Linked DNA regions of Homo sapiens: region 1 is linked to region 2. Evidence: promoter capture Hi-C in human tissues and cell types (Jung and others, 2019). All regions are on one chromosome and are shown on one strand. Each heading gives the region's core, a stretch centred on a gene start or on the middle of the fragment in contact. The rest is flanking DNA. Distances are from core to core; before and after follow the strand shown.

Region 1 (3,253 bases), core at 261-2,760, 790 kb after region 2:
AAACAGAACTGCTGAGCCAATTCAGAGATTGAACTGCTTCAAGGACCAATATCAAACTATTAGGCCGTTATAACTCAGAGACTTCCAAACAGCTCTAACACGGGATAGAAGTCAATAAGCAGTTAGGGATGAGTATTCCTTATTCCCCTGTGATAAGCAGAGGCTGCGCAACAACAAATGACCAGACAGGATGTCTGAGCTGAGACCAAATGTCCTTAAGTCAAACAGAACAGTGGTGAAGGCTTCCAAACTATCTACTTGGTGATAGAAGGAAAAGCCACCAGATCAGGACTGCAAGATTCCAGTCTCAGACAGGGCCTGCAAACCCAGAAGATCCGTGGTACTTACTTCCAGCTGGAGGAAGAGTTCTGCAAGAGATAAAAAGTGCAATTAGATTTGCTAGGCTGTGCCACCTTTCTAGACAGTGATGTTAGCATTCATTTAGAAGCAGTAATTGCTTTCTGAAAGCATGTTACAAAGCAAATGTTTTCATCAGTGAAATGTTGATATACACGAAGGGAAAGGACATGACAAGTACTCAAGTCTAGTTAAAATGTGACCCTGCCAGCCTGCCAACATGGCGAAACCCCATCTCTACTAAAAATATAAAAATTAGCCAGGCATGGTGGCAGGCGCCTGTAATCCCAACTACTCGAGAGGCTGAGGCAGGTAGGAGACTCACTTGAACCTGAGCGGCAGAGGTTGCAGTAAGCTGAGATTGTGCCACTGTACTACAGCCTGGGTGACAGAGCGAAACCTGGTCTCAAAAAAAAAAAAAAAAATGTGGCCCTGAACATATCAGCTGTGGCAGTTCTGCCTGAGGGCAAAAAACGTGCAGCAGGAACCAAACTCCCCTGGCAAAATAAACTTATCCCATCTTTCACTCAGTCCACCCGCCAACAGTCTCCACAGTGGCAGGATGGGTCAAGAAGAAATAATGCAATTACTCCAGAAACAGAGTGGATGTGATGTTTTAAAGCAGTGGTCTCCAACCTTTTTGGCACCAGGGACCAGTTCGGTGGAAGACAATTCTCCCACGGGCTGGGGCAGGGTAGGGGGGCAGGCGGCAGGTGGGGGAAAGCAGCCCAGTGGTCCGCAGCCTGAAGGATGGAGACCCCTGGTTTTCTGGGGGGTTCTGGTTTTTTTGAGACAGAGTCTGGCTCTGTCACCCAGACTGGAGTGCAGTGGCATGATCTCGACTCACAGCAACTTCCACCTCCTGGGTTCAAGCAATTCTACTGCCTCAGCCTCCCAAGTAGCTAGGATTAAAGGCGCAAACCACCACACCTGGCTGATTTTTGTATTTTTAGTAGAGACGGGGTTTCACCATGTTGGCCAGGAGGGTCTTGAAATTTTGACCTCAGGTGATGCGCCAGCCTCAGCCTCCCAGAGTGCTGGGATTACAGGCGTGAGCCACTGCCTACGGCCAGGACCTCCTTTTTAAAGCACTATATGAAGGGCTATATGTGGTAAGGAAGGACCTCCACAGATAATCCATAGGACAGAGGCTCCAGGGACACCTGGGGCTTCACTGTCAGGCCACCAAGCTCTGCTCACGCTGTCTGTCCCTGCAATGCCCTCTGACCTCCTATTCACATTCCCAAGTTCCTGACTGAATGCAGCCCCCTCCTGAGGCCTTTCCTGCTGACTCTTCACACATCATGCCCTTCAGATGCCTTAAAGCACCCATCTAACAGCACTCAACAACTTAGTTAGCACCTACCATGTGCCGGATGATTAGTAACTGTTACCTAGCAGCTCCCCTCACCACTAGATTTACAATAGAGCACAAACCTGTCTACAAACCCGCAACTTGAAGCAAAATTGCTCCATGGCTTCTACTCTTTCCTGGGTGACAGGGGGCTGTGCGTACAGTCCACAAAGATTCTCCAGGGTGTGCTATTCTCAGTCTACCAGGGGCCCCTTTGCAAACCTGGCAAATGCTATGGACCCCTTCCCCAGAACAAAGCACATATACAAACTCCACAGAATTCTGACAGTTCTAGGAACCCCAGATTAAAAGCCCAGATGTTAACAGTTGTTGACAGAGAAAATTAACTGAGGAAAGGGACAAGCCACTCATTATTTTTTAGCCCCCAGAAGTCCTACCCACTTTGGCACTGGGAATTGCTGGGCATAGGAACCCAGGCACACCCAACCCAATGTGATCATTCCTATAACAGCTTCAGATCTGTACCATGCACAAGTGGGCCAGACAGCTGAAGTCCTGTGCCATTCCGAGAAATCATGCCTTGCACCAAGTCAAAATGACAATTAGCACTTAGAGGTGGCAGTTGTTTCAGTTAAAGCAGCCAGACACCACTAAAGCAGGTGGATCATCTCTGAAAAGAATGTGCTTTTTAAAGCTCAAGTCGTGACTGATTTAGGAGCTCTTCTGCATTTTTACCTAGGAGAGAGAAATGTGAAAGAACACATGAGGGCCGGGCACGTTGGCTCACACCTGTAACCCCAGCACTTTGGGAGGCCAAGGCGAGCCGGGCGGATCACCTGAGGTCAGGAGTTTGAGAGCAGCCTGGCCAACATGGTGAAAACCTATCTCTACTAAAAATACAAAATTAGCCAGGTGTGGTGGCAGGCGCCTGTAATTCCAGCTACTCAGGAGGCTGAGGCATGAGAATCGCTTGAACCCAGGAGGTGGAGGTTGCAGTGAGCTGAGATAGCGCCACCACACTCCAGCCTGGGTGACAGAGTGAGACTCTGTCTCAAAAAAAAAAAAGAACACATGAGGACATGATTGAGAGTCTGAGCAGAATGAAGAAAAACAACTCAATACTCACTCTGCTGTTCTAACTTCAGAAATATGACTCACATCCATTTTCTTTCCTTACTTCCATCTTATGCCAGTTCCATGAGGTATTAATATTCCCCTCTACAGATGGAGAAATTGAGGTTTCAAGAGCAAATATTCTGCTTAAAGGATCAGATCTAAAGTGAGGAGGCAGGACCTCCTTCCACAAATGCCACCTCCTTTATCTGCTAAAAGGGAAGTCTAGGAAGAGCAACCGGTTGAGGATTTTCAAGACATCTCAAGGAGGTGCTTCAGGAACTCAGAGTAGAAAGGGGGTAACAGCAGGGAGAGGTAGAAGGTGGAAAGGCAGACAGCTAATAGCTGGGGCTCCACTTTCTCAGCGCCCACCCACACTTCAACCCCTTTTCTCTCTGTTGGTGTGCACTGGGCAGCTTCTCACTGAGGAGACACAGTGAAGCGTTGGAGAGTCACTGGCCCAGAATG
Region 2 (3,265 bases), core at 236-2,735:
AGGTGCTCAGTAAATCATCACTTCTTCTTTCTGGCCTCCTAATTCCCAGACAACCTGGGTCTGACTCCTTGGTGGCCTTGAACAAGTTACTTTAATCTCTCCGTGCCTCAGTTTCCTCATCTGAAAAAAGAAGATAAACAGTACCCACCTCCTCTGGTTGTGGTATTAGCTGAGATATTATAGGCAACAGCAGTTAGCAAAGTGCTGAGCGAATAGTTAGCACTCAGAGTTACCAGTTAGTGTTACTACAATTACTGGTAAGCCTCAGTTTCCCTGTCTGGGACAAGGAGAGGTGTTTCACCGGAAACCAGTTGCGGTTATTAACACTATCATTGTTCAGCCTTAACGTGCACTTCTAGACTCTGTTATGATGCTGGAGTGCACAAAATCCCGTTTCTTCTTTGTTTTTTAATTCTTTGATATCTGCTTAACCTATTCTTTATATTAAATGCCCTCTGTCAAAATATCCAACATGGTTTCTATTTTCCTGTCTGTACCATGATTGATGAGCACCCAGAGGCCCCAATAGCTGAGTCAGGCAGGTTAAGATCTCTGCTGGGAGCCGGGAGAGAAGTTTTCCGTAAAGATAACTTTGCAGGCTGCATTCCTGAGCCCTGAGGTCACCTGTGTCACACTGTCCCAACGTCAGCTCCCAGGAAACTTTCTCTGGCTATTCCCAGGGCTGAGGGCTACATCCCGGCCTCCCCATTCTCTCTCCCTCCTGCCCCTGACTTACCAGACACCTCCACGTATCCATCTTTGGTCTTCACCATCAACTCCTCTGGCTTGAAGCTGTGCACATTCACACACACTTTCCAGGGCTCCCCAGGGAAGGGTGGGGGGGTCCTGCCCTCGGCAGGCACCCCAAACCTGGCGGTGGCAGTGGGGCCCCGGGGCACCATGCCCGACCTTAGGGTGCCTGGCCAGGCGGAGGAGAGACGAGGCAGAGCCCAGTCGGGCCAAGAGGCTGTCAAGTCGTCTGGGAAGGGGTCCATGCCAAAGCCATCATCCAGCAGGCGAGAGGAGAGGGGAGAGTCCCGGAAGGGGTCTCGGCGCAGGCGGCTTGGGTAGTGGCAGGAGAAGGGCATCTGACCGTCAGCCATGGTGGCTGCTCAGCTCAGAGAGAAACAGAGGCTCAGAGAGACAGAACCACCTGCCCAAGGTCACACAACAAGGTGGTGTGGCTGGGCTAGCTTATTCTTCAGCTTCCGAAAATGCTGCTTTTCTGCAGGGAGAAGCAGAACCAACCACTGCCAGGGACGGTTGTGTCCCCTCGACTGGGGTCCCAGCCCCCAAAGGTAACCCCCGGGGCAGATCCAGCAGAATCCCAGAGGGTCCCCGTCCGCACTGCCTCACGACAGACCGGCAAGCCACCGTCCTCCCAGGCTTCCCAGGCTGCCCAGGCTGGCAGCCAGAACCGCTGAGGTCTAGAGCGGAGCCAGGAGCTTAATAAACCCAGGGCACGCGCGCCTAGAAACTTCTTCTGGCTCCTTCTGGGCTGCAAGCCTTCTATTTATTTGCTGCTGGAGGCTGGAGGCGGGTTTTGCAAGCGTCTCCTGTCACAGGAATATTCGGAGGTGATGAACCAGCCCCGGAGAATCCGCGGAGGGAACAGCTGGGCTGTGGGGGGAGCTGGGAGGGGCCGCGTCCAAGTTCAGCCGGCCTCTCCGGACACTCTCTCCTCCCCTGGCCACTCCGCTCAGCTCCGCCCTCCTCTTGCTCCAGGAGCTGGAGCCGCCCTCCCCGAGCGGGGCACTAAGGCCTGGCTATTAATAACCCCGAGCCTGGCTGAGGGCTCAGGTCACCCTCTGGAAATACCTTCCCTAGAGCGTGTCGTATCCTGCCTTTCCCCTGGGGACCTGCAGAAAGGGAAGAGAGAGACAGGAGCCCAGTGGATTTGAAGGATGGCCCTGGGTTGCAATCCCCACTTACAAGATGGCCAAGCTCCTAGAGCCTCAATGCCCTCTGGGGAGATTGGTAAAGGAAAAAAAAAATTTTTTTAATGTGTATATATATATTCATATGACGCTTGTTAAAGTATGACAAGCAAGACTTTACTGGGCAGGGAAACTTTCTCCATAGATGTAGGGACCCCTGCAATGGGATTTTGCAGTGAGGGAGAAAGATTAGACTTGATTCCCAGTAGGTCATGGGTAAGTGTGAATTTGTAGCCAAGAAGCAGGTGGGGGGTCAGCGAATGGAAATTTACTAGGAGGGAAGTCCAGGAGTCAGAGGGATTCGGGCTCAGCTAACCTAAGAGGATTCTTGCTGAAGACAGGCCAGGGTGCTCAGACATCACCTGGGGGACCGCGGAGGATGAGGAAACTAATCAGATATCGAGGGTGATCAGAAATCGAAGATGGGTGGTTGCTACTAAACAGACTTAGCAGAGTTCATGCCAAAACTGAATTTTTCTTTCTTTCTTTTCTTTTTTTTTTTTGAGACAGAGTCTCACTCTGTCCCCCAGGCTAGAGCGCAGTTGCGCCATCTCCGCTCACTGCAACCTCCGCCTTCCAGGTTCAAGCGATTCTTCTGCCTCAGACTCCCGAGTAGCTGGGATTATAGGCACCCGCCATCGTGCCCGGCTAATTTTTGTATTTTTTAGTAGAGTTGGATTTCACCATCTTGGCCAGGCTGGTCTTGAACTCCTGACCTCATGATCCACCTGCCTCCACCTCCCAAAGTGCTGGGATTACAGACGTGAGCCACCTCGCCTGGCCCAAAACTGAATTTTTATAAGGAACCTCACTGATGGGCTTAGGAGAAGATTCAGAAATCCGATTAATGTTTGGTCAATCAAAGCATCTTTATAGGCAGTAACATTATTCCCAGGCACCTCCAGGTTGTTAGTTTTCCTCCTTATAAACGGACATAACAGTAGCCAACTCACAGATGTACCATGAAGAATACATGAGGTAATTCTCTTTCTCCTTGTATTTTCAATTTTGAGTTATCAATTACATAATGTTTGCTATATGCCAGGCCCTGCTCTATGGGCTTTATAAATATGAATTCATTTAACCCTCACCAGCAATCCTGTGAGGTAAGAGTACCAGTATTATCCCATTTTACAGATGAGAAAACTACCATAGAAGTGTTCATGAATAGTAGCTTCTATTATTATTATGACTGTTAATACTGATAATTATTGAAAGATGTTACACTCAGGCAGGAGGTCTGGTCTGAAACTCAAAGCCCCAAATCTAGACTTTCCTGCTCTTCCCATGCAGCTGGAAGAATGAATTTACAAATCCTCCTTTGGCTT

The links. Contacts are between HindIII fragments. The study calls those that stand out against the background at their distance.
Region 1: a fragment that was not itself captured here is called in contact with the fragment with the promoter of HSPB8 in region 2 in 1 of the 25 tissues and cell types used here (IMR-90 fibroblasts).

The regions. Positions count from the first base shown.
Region 1 is chr12:118,387,042-118,390,294 of GRCh38, reverse strand. SUDS3 (SIN3A corepressor complex component SDS3) reads right to left here. Exons shown (of 12, transcript NM_022491.3): 5 at 349-368. Among named protein-coding and RNA genes, the nearest start is that of SUDS3, 12 kb to the right of the region's middle. The HindIII fragment of the contact is 6,770 bases long and covers 1-3,253 here.
Region 2 is chr12:119,177,151-119,180,415 of GRCh38, reverse strand. It overlaps HSPB8 (heat shock protein family B (small) member 8), which reads right to left and starts at 1,485. Exons shown (of 3, transcript NM_014365.3): 1 at 737-1,485. The coding sequence starts at 1,103. RefSeq lists enhancers at 1,133-1,882, 3,062-3,265. The HindIII fragment of the contact is 13,927 bases long and covers 1-3,265 here.